4 separate regions of the Homo sapiens genome follow, and all the other regions are linked to region 1. The links are contacts of gene promoters, found by promoter capture Hi-C in blood cells and fetal thymus (Javierre and others, 2016). All regions are on one chromosome and are shown on one strand. Each heading gives the region's core, a stretch centred on a gene start or on the middle of the fragment in contact. The rest is flanking DNA. Distances are from core to core; before and after follow the strand shown.

Region 1 (3,376 bases), core at 54-2,553:
TTTTCAGGGCCTTTTACTCTGTCCACCTGTAAATGTTCCTGTCTCTCACTCTGGGAACCCCAATTCGCCAGCGTCCTGTCCCCCCTCACCCCTCCATCGCTTTTCTATGCTGGGCCTCTGGAGACTGTCTCCTGCCTGCAACCCTGCCACCCCCCAGCCCCAGCCCCACTCCTGTGCCCTACATCACCTACCCCCAAAGGGATCCCCTCTCCTACCCGAGCATCTTACCCTGGCCTCAGCTTCCCCAAGTGGAGGCTGCAACGGCTTCAACAAAAACTGTCCTGTGCCTTCTCTGCACCCCCAATACTGGAATCAGCAGAGATCGGGCCGCCAGCCTTGCACAAGCCCCCCCGGGGAGGGTGGGGCCCGGGACCCTCTCCAGGACATGGTCTCCTTTGCTGTGTTCCCGCCATCATTTCCCTGTGCACGGGAGAGGGGGAGGGGTGCACCCAGGAACTAAGAGCGAATCCCTTCCCCATCCTCTCACAGGAATTCCTCTGGGTGTCACAGCCTCACCCCCGCCCACCCTGTCCCACCCTGGAGCCCCCATTTGGCTTTGGGGGGACCGGCGGCAGCTACTTGTGGATTACAAAATGAGGCCCTGGGAACATCAGCGGCAACAGGGTGGGGGGAGCGGCGAGGCAGTGTCCCTAGAGAGGTCCTGCCGTAGTCCTCCATTCCCCGGGTTGTGCCTAGGCTCCCAGAGGCACAACCAGAACCCGGGGTGCAGCTGGAGAGTGCCTCCCATCCGCCATCCCCTTTGGATGGGGCGGAAAACCCCCGAGGATGTCCTAGCGCAGTTCACGTTGCCCCAGCCGACCACGTGAGGGCGCGCCCTGTGTTAGTTTGGACAAATTAAAGCTCCTCTTGCGGGCAGGCCTGGAGCCCCCCGGGCCGGGACAAGGCTCGGGTGCCCGTGGCGTTCTCTGGGTTGCCGGCCGCCAAGCTCCCGGCCGTGGGGCCTCCTCTGGGGCCCGCGCTATTGGCCTCCAAACGAGGTGCCCCCCTCCTCTCGCGCTCCCGCAGCCTAGGGTGCACCTCTCCGTTCGCCTTTGCTGAGCCCTTCCAGGACGCAAGTCGCCTCTCCACTGCGCCGGGAGCTCAGGCCCTGTCCGGGGCGCCCCGCTGCGGGCGCGGCGGCGCTGGAGAGGCGCGGTCCGAGAAGCCAGCGGCCGGAGAAGGGGCTCCAAGAAGCACAAGTTGGCGCTGGCCCCGGACCAGGCTGTTGTTGTTCTCAACGTGGTCCGCCATGAAGCTATAAAAAGCCGAGAGAAGCGCCCTCCCGCCAGAGCGCAGCGCGCACGCCCAGCGAGTTCCAGAGGCGCCAGTGGAAGCTGCGGCGGCGGTGTCTCGCGTTCGGCGGGATTTCTCTTCGCTCCGGCTCGGCCTAGGTCTACGTCCCCAGCTCCAGCCGCCGGCTCGGACTCGGTCTCTGACCCCCAACTCGGTCCCCTAGTCCGGCCCCGGCTCCGGGCCCCCCAACCCTCGCTCCGGCCCGGCCCGGCCCCCACCCCAGCCCTGCCGCCCGGCCCCAGGCCCGGCCGCGGCCGCTCCCGCCTGGAGCCGCCGCGCGCCCCCAGCCCCCCTGCACCCCCTCGGCCCCTCGCCTTCCTCTTCCCGGCGCGGCCCCCCGGCTTCCGCGCGCCGCCCGCCACCAATCCTCTTGCTACCATGTCCGTGGAGCTCGAGGAGGCCCTGCCAGTGACGACCGCCGAGGGAATGGCCAAGAAGGTGACCAAGGCTGGCGGCTCGGCGGCGTTGTCCCCATCTAAGAAGAGGAAGAATAGCAAGAAGAAGAACCAGCCGGGCAAGTACAGCCAGCTGGTGGTGGAGACCATCCGTAGGCTGGGCGAGCGCAACGGCTCGTCGCTGGCCAAGATCTACACCGAGGCCAAGAAGGTTCCGTGGTTCGACCAGCAGAATGGGCGCACCTACCTCAAGTACTCGATCAAGGCGCTGGTGCAGAACGACACGCTTCTGCAGGTGAAGGGCACCGGCGCCAACGGTTCCTTCAAGCTCAACCGCAAGAAGCTGGAGGGCGGCGGGGAGCGGCGCGGAGCCCCGGCGGCCGCCACCGCCCCGGCCCCCACCGCGCACAAAGCGAAGAAGGCAGCCCCGGGCGCGGCCGGCTCCCGGCGCGCGGACAAGAAGCCCGCCAGGGGCCAGAAGCCGGAGCAGCGCTCGCACAAGAAGGGCGCTGGCGCCAAGAAGGACAAAGGCGGCAAGGCCAAGAAGACGGCGGCCGCCGGGGGCAAGAAGGTGAAGAAGGCGGCCAAGCCCAGCGTCCCCAAAGTGCCCAAGGGCCGCAAGTGAGCGTGTCGGCCGGTCAGAGCGGCCGGCGTGGGCTTTTCGGTGTTTTTGTTTTTCTACCCCAAGTGACGTAGATTTTGTACGGCTCACGCCGGCCGGGGCCGCGAGGCCTGGTCTGAGCCTCAGGGAGGGGCCCCGGGTCCTCTCAGTCTTTCCCCTCCCCCAACGATGTAGCGTTTTTCGTTGTTTGCTTTAGGTTTTTGAAACAGCCCCGGCGACGCCTCTATTGGCTCTCGGCCTTGGCAACGGCCGTCGTCATGGTTACTGGCCCCTAGGCGCCGATGGCCGAGGCCGCGCCTGCCCACCGGGCGGGGTCGCTGGTTGGCCGGGCCCAGGCGCGCGGGGACGCGGAGGCCGCGCATCCTTTCCCAGCTCCCCACCCTCCTTGCCTTTGGGTGCGCGACAAACAATCGCTCCGGGCTCAGGGCTGCGCGGCTCTTCCCTTCATTCCATGGGCCTTTTTTTGGGCACAATAAAGCGTTTAAACCTTTCAGCCTCTCTCGTTTAATCTGAGTGGAATAGGGATGGGCGCCTTCGGCACGCGGGGTTGGATGGCGGGCCCCTCGGGTCCTTATACCCCAGATCTGTTGGCCAGGGTAGGCCTGGAGCCAGGGGCCTTCAGCAAGGGGTGGGAATTGCTGGCTTGGGACGAACTTAAAGTACCTGGGACAGGGAGATAGACAGGATCGGTCCCTTAGGAGGGATGGATCTATCTGCCCCCACAGGGGGTCCATCGGCCATTGCGGGGAGCGGGATGGGGGAGGGGAGAGGAGGGGGGATTAATGGGTTTTCAGAGTTAATGGTCAGGGACCTAAACTTGGCCTCCAGAGAGGTAGTTCTTACAAAGTCACACCAGACTGGCCTGTAAACTTAGTCATTCTGACTCCAGCGAGGGTTAGAGTGAGATGTGACCAGGACGAAGTGTGGTGGCCAGAGAGTGGAGTTCCTGACCACAATCCAACGTGTGGTCTCAGAAGGGTATTTGCTGTCTCTGAGCCTATTGGTTAAGCTAGAGTGCAAACGGGACCCAAAGGATTGCTGGGAAAATTAGTAGGAGCAGAAGGAT
Region 2 (3,015 bases), core at 236-2,735, 270 kb after region 1:
TGTAATCTTGAACTCCTGGGCTCACATGTAGGCTTCCCATCTTGAAGGAGGAGACTTTGTGCATATATCTTAACAGGAAATTTTCAAATTCAAGTAACTGCAAGGCTTCTATCAGAAAATAAAGCTCTAACCTTTACGGAGAGGCATCAATCAAGGGATTAATTAGTTACTAGTAACTAGTAGTCCCTAGGACCCTCAAGTTACAGGAACCTTTTTTTTTTTTTTTTTTTGAGGCAGAGTCTCACTCTGTCACCCAGGCTGGAGTGCAGTGGTGGGATTTTCGCTTACTGCAGCCTCTGTGTTCTGGGTTCAAGTGATTCTCATGCCTCAGCGTCTCAGCCAGCTGGGACTACAGGTGTGCACCATCACACCCAGCTAATTTTTGTAGTTTTAGTAGAGACAGGGTTTCGACATATTGGCCAGGCTGGTCTCGAACTCCTGGCCTCAAGTGATCTGTCTACCTTGGCCTCCTGAAGTGCTGGGATTATAGGCGTGAGCCACCGCTCCCAGCCAGGAACCTTTTAGGTCAGAGTCGTGGCTATTTCTTGGACCCAAATATCAGGGGAGGTTCTTTTTTTGGTGAAGCTTTCTCAGGAATTGTTGGCTTACTCTGTTTCTGGCCAAAGGAGACCCCATGTTTCCCATGGTTGCAGCTCCCTGGGTGCCACCGTTTTGCTCCCTCGAGACATCGTCTCAGACTTCAGCTCAGTGGACAAAGGCATACCTCCATCTTTCTATGAAATTGCACCCTCTTACCCCCTCTCTTTCCGTGGCCTCAGGGCTTGGCACTCAGTACAGGCCCTGCCTGCTGATCTTGGTGCAGCCTTGTCGAGTGGTTTCGAGTGTGGGCTTGGGTGACCCGGGCTGAGCTCTGAGTCCTGGCTCTGCTATTGTGCTGTGTGGCTGTGAGCACGAGTCCTCATCAGTGTCCCCAGCAGTAAAACGTGGATGTGGGAGAAGCCCCATGCCTGGTCTCTGTGAATCACAAATGTTGACGCTGCCTTTGGTCTCCTCATCTGGGTTTTCCTCCAGGGAAGCCCCCTGGTCCTCTGAGGCCCTCATGAACTCTGAGGCTCATGCTGAGCTGACAGCAGCAGGCCGGCTGTGGGCCAGGGCAGGGCATCAGGCAGGTGCTTAGGTCACACCCAACACCAAGGTGCTGAAATTACAGAAGTCTCAGCCTCTCCCCACTGGGCAAAAGGGAAGGCCATCCAGGCTGCAAACCAGTGACGTTCAGAGGGTCCAGGATGCCCCAACACTAGGCTGACTCTGTGCAGAGATAGCTAAGAGGCTGCCTCTATCCATTCTCTAGTTCTTTCTTTTTTTCTTTTTAAATAGGCTTTATTTTGGGTTCACAGCAAAAATTGAGTGGAAAGTCAGTTCCTATACACGCCCTGCCCCCCAACATGCACAGCCTTCCATATCAGTAACATCCCCAGTAGAGTGGGGCATATGTTATTACTGATGAAACTACAAGGACATGCCATTATTGCCCAATGTCCGTAGTTTCTGAGGGCCCACTCTTGGAGTCAGACATTCTATGGGTCGAGACAAATGTCTAATGACACATATCTACCATTATGGTATCATACAGAATAGTGTTGTTGCCCTGAAAAATCTTCTGGGCCCCCTTGTTCATCCTTCCCCATCTCCTAATCCCTGGCAACCACTGATCCTTTTACTGTCTCCATAGTTTTGCCTTTTCCAGAATGTCATACAGTTAGGATCATATAATATTTAGCCTTTAAAGATTAAATTCTTTCACTTAGTAATATGCATTTAAGGTTCCTACATGTCTTTTCATGGCTTGGTAGCTCATTTCTTTTTTTTTTTTTTTGAGATGGAGTTTTGCTCTGTCGCCCAGGCTGGTGTGAAGTGATGTGATCTTGGCTCACTGCAACCTCCACCTGCCCCTCCCCCTGCCCTGCTCTGAGTTCAAGCGATTCTCCTGCCTCAGCCTCCCGAGTAGCTGGGATTATAGGTCCCCACCACCATGCCTGGCTAATTTTTGTATTTTTAGTAGAGACGGGGTTTCACCATGTTGGCGAGGCTGGTCTCGAACTCCTGACCTCAGGTCATCCACTCGCCTCAGCCTCCCAAAGTGCTGAGATTATAGGCGTGAGCCACTGTGCCTGGCCTTGGGTTAATTTTTCCTAAGAGTGTAAGGTCTATATCTAAATTTTTTTTTCCATTTGGATGTCCAGTTGTTCTAGCATCATTCGTTGAAAATAATTTTTCTCCATTATATTTCCTTTGTTCCTTTGTAAAAACATCAGTTGACTATGGGTATACTTCTGGGCTCTCTATTCTGTTCCATTGATCTATTTGTCTGTTCTTTTACCAATACCACACTGTCTTGATTACTGTAGATTTAGCATAAGCTTTGAGGTTGGGTCATGTCAGTCCTCCAACTTTGTTCTCCTCCTTAAATATTGTGTTGGCTATTTTGGGTCTTTTGCTTCTCCATATAAACTTTAGAATCAGTTTGTTAATATCCACAAAGTAACTTGCTGGAATTTCGATCAGGATAGCATTTGGTCTGTAGATCAAGCTGGGAAGAACTGAGATCTTGACAATATTGAGTCTTCTTGCTCTTAAACACGGAATCTCTCTCCATCTATTTCGTTCTTTGATTTCTTTCATAACAGTTTTGTAGCTTTCCTCACATAGAGCTTATACATATATTTTAAAATATTTATACTTAAGTATTTTGTATTTGGGGGTGTTAATGTAAATGGTATTGTATTTTGAATTTCAAATTCCACTTGTTCATTGTTGGTATATAGAAAAGTGATTGGCTTGGTTGGGCGCAGTGGCTCACGCGTGTAATCCCAGCACTTTGGAAGGCCAAGGCGGGAGGATCATGAGGTCAGAAGATCGAGACCATCCTGGCTAACATCTCTATTAAAAATACAAAAAAAAAAAAATTAGCCGGGCGTGGTGATGGGCACCTGTAGTCCCAGTTACTTGGGAGGCTGAGGCAGGAGAATGGCATGAACCCGGGAGGCCGAGGTT
Region 3 (2,982 bases), core at 294-2,793, 300 kb after region 1:
CTGGATTCTGCCAACACTGGAACGGGCTTTCCCAGGGGGTCCAGACCCGGCCAAGGGTGCCTTGCTTTCGGCCTTGTGCGAGCTTGTGCAGAGAAGCCCGCCACGCCCGCCTGGACTTCCGGCCTACGGAATTATGAGGTCACAGGTGGGTGTTGTTTCAAGTCACTAAGAGTGTGGTGATCGGCTATGGTTGTGATAGAAACCAAATTCAGCCATCCAAACAACCACACCCCATCTGCTGTCAGCTCAACCCCGACTGTGGCCTTGTGCTCCCAGAGAGACTTGACTGGCCTGAGCCAATCATGAAGCCGCCTTCACGAAGCCTCAATCATGAAGCTTCCTTCAGATTGGTTTAGAAACAGGCATGTGATGCAATTCTGGCCAAAGAGAGGTGAGGGGAAGTCTGCCAGGAGGACCCGTGGATATGGCAGTGATGCCTGAGGCCATGGCAGCTCTCTTGCAACCATGAGGGGTCCTTGCTGACAGGCCAAAATGACAAGCTGAGGAAAACAGAGTGGAAGATGAATCAGGTCCTTGAAAACTTTACTGAACTGCCAAGGAACTGCTCTCCCCTGGACTTCTCACATGAGATAATAAATGTCCTTGTGGTTTAAGCCATTCTGAGTTGGGTTTTATGTTCTTGCAGCATAAAGCATCATCACTGATAAACCACTCACAGCACTGCTTGGGAGTGCAATAAGGTTGTACAGATAAAGTCCTTAGTGCAGTGCCTAACACCCAGTGAGTGCTCAAAAATGTTAGCTTTTGTTCCTTAATCAGTTCCGCCCCCTCCTGCCTCAGGCCCTGTACGAGTCAGGGTTTGACCAGAGAAGTGGGGCCAGTGTGTGGAATCCATCTACAGCCATGCCTGCAGCTGTAGCTCTGTCTCCAGGGCTTTATGACAAGCAGGTGGCCTGTGTGATCACGGGGGCTGGCTAAATGAGTCTGGAATCCACAGAAGGGAAGCTGGCAGGCAGGTGGAGCTCACGGGCACGGCTTATGGGCTTCCCCAGAGGCTCTAGACACGGGCGTGCCCATGAGCTCCACCTGCCTGCCAGCTTCCCTTTTGTGGACTTCAGGCTTGCTTAGCCAGCCCCCACAATCACACAGCCCACTTCCTTGTCATAAAGTCCTTCAGAAAGAGCTACAGCTTGTAGGCCTGGCTGTAGATGGATTCCACACCCTTCTGTCCACAGGTGGAACTTCTCTTTCACACAGAAGCCTGTTTGGCTCTTGAAGCCCACCCAGACCAGCCAGGATAATGTCCCTTACCTAAAGTCAACTGATGACAGACTTTAATCCATATGCAGAATACCTGTACAGCAACTGTAGCTTAGTGTTTGACCGGTTAACTTGCTGTAACCAAGGGAGCGGTCAAGGCATCACATCAAAGCCAGGGGGACGCATCAAAAGCCCATTACACCGCCTGGGCTCAGTTTATTCTGGAATAGATGAAAAATGTCACTGCTGTCTTTTTCTCTCTGCTTCCTATGCTCTGAGCCGCTCAGTGACTCAGCAAGTCTCAGGAAGCTGCAGAGCTGACAGGTCCCTCAGAACCCAGCCAGGCTACTTTGGGCCATCAGGCCACGGCCACGCTGCAGCACCTACTCTGGGAGGTCCTGGAGGTTCGCACACAGCGGCTTCCTTTGCTGCATGGCGTTTCCTGAGTGAAGCAGCCTTACAGGAAACAGAGAGCAACATGTGAAAACAAGAGAACAACAGCAGGAAGAACAGCTTGGGGTAGGGGGGCGGGATGCAGCAGAGGAAGGGCGGAAAATAAATCACAAGGGGTGGGGGGACAGTCCTCAGGGGTCCTCTGTGACTCCTCTCTGGTCCCTACCTGAATTCGGGAACCCCCCCAACTTTACTGAGCAGGGGATGGCGGTGGGAAGGGTGCAACAGGAGTGTGCGAGCAGACACGGACACTCAGCTCTCGGGGGCGCCGTGCAGGGTGTCAGCCTGGGCTGGGTGACTTCTAAGGCCCTGCCAGCCCAAGCTGCTGACTTGGTTCTTTAATTCACCGAAGGATGAAGTATTGAGCCAGCCACTGTCCTTAGCAATGGCATGGCCCCTGACCTCACAGAGCTTACCCCGCAACCTCCCCCCCCGAAGGAGCAGACCTCAATGAAGTCATCACAAAAATACATGAAGGACAGAAAAGTCCAGGGGCCGTGAAAGACGTTAGGAAGAGGCTGTAGATGGAGGTGGGGCCTCCCTAAAGAGTTGGGGTCTGGCAAGACCTGAAGGGTGAATGTGGATTGGTCAGGAGTAGGCTTGGGGATGGTGGAGGGAGCCGTATGCCCAAAGGGCCTGAGAAGGGGAGCCCTGGAGGGTCAGTGTGGCTGCAGGAGAGGATGGGAAAGGGCCTGGTCACTCACAGTCATGATGGTCACCAGAGGAGGTCACAGGAGAGTTGTGAGTGGGCGAGCCCGAGGTGGGATCTGGGTGTTGAAAAGATTAACCTGATGCTGTGTGGTCCGTGGTTCTGATGGAGCTGGGACACCAGTCAGGAGGCTAGGACAGCTGTCCAGGAGTGGTGCTGGGGCTGGGCTGGGTGGTGGGTGCGACTGGAGAGTAGCAGGTGGGTCTGAGCCACTTGGAGCTGAGACTTAGCAGGACTCCGTGTGTACAGGTGAGGAGGGCTCTTCACCTGCTCCTCCTCACTGGCCCCTCCTCACTGGCCCCTCGGCATCCAGGCTGGCTCCAACCTGCTCGTCCCCGTGCAGGCAGTGCAGACAAGCCAAGCTTGTGCCCAGCCCTGTGATTTTGCTATGGGAGTCACCTCCGCCCTGGATCACACAAGTCATGGCCCCACCTTGCCACTCAGGCCTCAATTCCAGGGTCACATCTCAGAGAAGTCTCCTGTGATGGGCTGGTTGTGTCTCCCCAATTCATATGTTGATGTCCAGACCCCCAGAGCTCCTCATAATGTGATCTTATTTGGCGATGGGACCTTTAATGAGGTAATCAAGTTAAAATGAG
Region 4 (3,471 bases), core at 613-3,112, 330 kb after region 1:
AGCAATTCTCGTGCCTCAGCCTCCCAAGTAGCTGGGATTACAGGTGCACGCCACCACACCCATCTAATTTTTGTATTTTTAGTAGAGACTGGGTTTCACCATGTTGGCCAGAATGGTCTCGAACCCCTGACCTCAGGTCATCCTCCTGCCTCAGCCTCCCAAAGTGCTGGGATTACAGGCATGAGCCACCGCACCCGGCCAAAAAATACATTTTCTCTGATCTGTTGAATCAATCTCTGAATGTAAAGGTGTATCAATTAGCTATTGCCACAAAAATGCGGTGCAACAAACCCAAACAAGCCCCCAAGCTCATGGCTGCACACAGGAACCTGAGGTTCTCCTGGAGGTGCTGGGCGCTGGTCTAGGCTGGGTTCTGCAACAGCTCAGCTCTGCTTCATGCTGCTCCTTTTCCTCCTGGACCAGTGGGCTATCCTAGACCCCTTCTTGTTCTAGAAACACGGACACACAGGAGGGCAAGCCTAGCCCCACAAACACTCCTCAAGTCTTTGAGTGTCTCCCACCTGCTAGCATTTTATTGGCCAAACCAAGTCACATGGTTCCAGCCCAATATGAGGGGAGGAGACAAGTAGTACTTCACATCTTGATAGACCTTGCTTTGTTTTGTTTTCATCTGCTTACTTGAACTAGCCCACCATTATGATTTCAACTTCTCCTGGTATTCTGTCGATGGTGTAAGTTTCTTGTATGGGTTGGAACCCCGAGAGCGCACCAACAGACAACACGAGGCGGTGTGGAGCAACATGCTGTTTCAATGAACGCCTTGGTGCAGGCCGGCTGAGGCCTAAAATGGCGTCAGCCCCAAGTGAGGACGGGGCAAAGGTTTTATAGTCTCCTGTAAACAGGAAGTGTCCTAGTCTGGCGTAACTGCTACGCTGTACCCGGATGGCCTCTTTCTCATCTTCATGTCTTCCGGCCAGGGTAGGTGTATTCCAGCCGGCTCTCCTCCTGCTTCTGCTATTTTGCTGGTGCACGCTGCTGACGTAAGTGACCTTACGCCTTGGGACTAGGCTTGAGAAGGGAGGAGTTATTCATCTCCTTAAGCTTTCAGGCCCTGGGGAGAGTCTTACAGATGGTTGCTTCAGCTATTTTGGAGGCCGACTGGTTGGGTGTATAGTATGTTTAGAACTGCTCCATCTTCTTGGTGAACTGAACTTTTTGTCATTTTATGGTGACCATTCCTGTCTAAAATGATGCCTTTACTCTTGGGTCTATTGCTATAAAGCAAAAGAGCCTGGAAAAAGACATCTGGCAAATACCAACCAAAAGAAAATTGGCACTTGACCTCCTTTAGCCCTCATCTCTTTCACAGCATCTTCTAAGCATGTTTTTGTTTTTGTTGTTGTTGTCCTCTAAAGGCATTTATAAAATGGATCTCTGTGGGGCAAAACTTCATGAGACCTTGTGTGCCTAAGAGTATTTTTTTATCATGCCAATACCTTTAAATGACATACCTTCGGCTCTACATAAAATTCTAGTTTAATTTTTTTTTCCTTCAATACCTGAGTATTTACAGATGAGTACATAAATGTTTCTTTATATAAATTATTTATTTATTTATTTTTGAGACGGAGTCTTGCTCTGTTGCCTAGACTGGAGTTCAGTGGCACAATCTCGGCTCACTGCAACCTCCACCTCCCAGGTTCAAGCAATTCTCCTGTCTCAGCTTCCCAAAGTAGCTGGGACCACAGGCACATGCCACCACGCCCAGCTAATTTTTGTATTTTTAGTAGAGATGGGGTTTCACCATATTGGTCAGGCCGGTCTTGAACTCCTGACCTTAGGTGATCCACCCGCCTTGGCTTTCCAAAACGCTGGAATTACAGACGTGAACCACCACGCCCGACCTATAAATTGTTTATTTCAGAGAAATGAGATCCTACAACTTACTTTAAAATGTTTTGACATGATTTAGATTATCTTTGAGAATATGATCAAGGATACTTGTTTTTGTTTGTTTGTTTTTAGACAGAGTCTCTCTCTGTCACCCAGGCTGGAGTACAGTGGCGCGATCTTGGCTCACTGCAACCTCCGCCTCCTGGGTTCAAGCGATTCTCCTGCCTCAGCCTCCCAAGCAGCTGGAACTACAGGCACATGCCACCATGCCCAGCTAATTTTTGTATTTTTAGTAGAGACGGGGTTTCGCCATGTTGGCCAGGCTGGTCTGGAACTCCTGACCTCAGATCATCCTCCTGCCTGGGCCTCCCAAAGTGCTAGGATTACAGGCATGAGCCACTTTGCCTGGGCAAGGATACTTGTTTTAATTTTGTTGTTTCATTTTAAACACCTATATATTAACAGTATTCCATTATATGTCTCTAATTTATCCTACCCCTTATTGGTGGATATTTGAGTTGTTTCAAATGTTTTTCTGTTGCAATTCTGCGATAGACATTCTTTACGTCCATTTTTGTGCATATATGTGGGCACTTCTGTTGCCTGTATTCCAAGAAGTAAATTTGCTGGATTGAAGGCATGTATTAATAGTTTTTGATAGATATTGTCAACTTCCCCTTTAAAAGGGCTAAATAACTTGCCTTTCTGTCTACAGAAAATGAGAGGCTCTGTTTGTCCACTTGCTGGCCCACCTGGGATTGAATCAGAAAAGGTCTAATGCTACCAGAGACTGGCAGGAGAAGCTTCACTCCAATCTCTGCACAAATGCTAACTATTTTGGTAGCAGAAAAATTAATGCTGCAGCAGTCTCCTGGGGTTAAAAATTTAGACTTTAAAAACTACAGCTTTAAAGACAGTCATGTTTTTATAGAATGATATTTGGATTAAATGTTTATGGAGCTTCTTATGATGTGAAAAGCCCCAACCTAGAGTGTGCAGTTTAAGCTGGAGTGTAAGCAACCAGGGGTGGGGTCAGGGGGCTCCTTGGGCTCTGGACTCTGGCAGAAGCCCATCTGTACCTTCCACATCCTGTCACCCTATCCACCCCGCATTGGGTAGCTTCACCCATGACATTTTTGTGAAGCTGCTTTCTCTGTCTGTCTGGAATATCTGCCAGCTTTGCTCCTCTAAGACTCTGCTAAGGTCCCCCTGGGAGGCCCACCCCACCCTCCCCATGCAGAGTTTTCTCCTCCACCTTCGTTCTTCACAACCTTGTTCCTGCTGCTATTATTGCACAAATCACATTGTACTGTGATTTTTTTTTTTTTTTTTTTTTACCTGCTTCTTAGGGCCAGGAGGGACCAGGGTAAGGCAAGTATGGCGTCTCTCCTAATAACATCTGGCCTGGCCATGTGATTTCACTTTAACTCTATCACCTTTTTAACCCTAGGCCTACTAACCAACACTCACTCTCCAACTGAGACACTCACTCTGAAAACCATGCACCTAAATTTTGCACTCAGGTGCCCAGTCCAGGTCGTGCTACTCTGCTGGCTAGGAGCACTGGACCTGTACCTCCTTCCCCAAGTCGGGCAGGCAATGTGGAGTGCTCAGCCT

What was found. The method cuts DNA at HindIII sites, captures the fragments that hold promoters and counts their contacts. A CHiCAGO score of 5 or more calls a contact.
Region 2: a fragment that was not itself captured here is called in contact with the fragment with the promoter of H1-10-AS1 in region 1 in 2 of 17 cell types (naive B cells and total B cells); the score reaches 6.1 in naive B cells.
Region 3: a contact is called between a fragment that was not itself captured here and the fragment with the promoter of H1-10-AS1 in region 1, in 2 of 17 cell types (total B cells and naive B cells). The highest score is 8.0, in total B cells.
Region 4: a fragment that was not itself captured here is called in contact with the fragment with the promoter of H1-10-AS1 in region 1 in 1 of 17 cell types (total B cells); the score reaches 7.0 in total B cells.

The regions. Positions count from the first base shown.
Region 1 is chr3:129,314,198-129,317,573 of GRCh38, reverse strand. H1-10-AS1 (H1-10 antisense RNA 1) reads right to left here and starts at 1,303. Exons shown (of 5, transcript NR_026991.1): 1 at 229-1,303. It overlaps H1-10 (H1.10 linker histone), which reads left to right and starts at 1,288. Exons shown (of 1, transcript NM_006026.4): 1 at 1,288-2,803. The coding sequence starts at 1,672. The coding sequence ends at 2,313. RefSeq lists silencers at 810-1,149, 1,950-2,079, 2,460-2,749. The HindIII fragment of the contact is 12,756 bases long and covers 1-3,376 here.
Region 2 is chr3:129,048,827-129,051,841 of GRCh38, reverse strand. No RefSeq gene overlaps it. Among named protein-coding and RNA genes, the nearest start is that of GP9, 10 kb to the left of the region's middle. The HindIII fragment of the contact is 1,796 bases long and covers 588-2,383 here.
Region 3 is chr3:129,014,546-129,017,527 of GRCh38, reverse strand. All of the region lies in intron 2 of EFCC1 (EF-hand and coiled-coil domain containing 1), which reads right to left. It also overlaps a transcript of CFAP92 not described here. Among named protein-coding and RNA genes, the nearest start is that of EFCC1, 15 kb to the right of the region's middle. RefSeq lists a silencer at 262-421 and enhancers at 23-524, 1,202-1,251, 1,272-1,381, 1,095-1,602. The HindIII fragment of the contact is 2,409 bases long and covers 339-2,747 here.
Region 4 is chr3:128,989,009-128,992,479 of GRCh38, reverse strand. All of the region lies in intron 2 of CFAP92 (cilia and flagella associated protein 92 (putative)), which reads left to right. Among named protein-coding and RNA genes, the nearest start is that of CFAP92, 3.3 kb to the left of the region's middle. The HindIII fragment of the contact is 1,595 bases long and covers 1,065-2,659 here.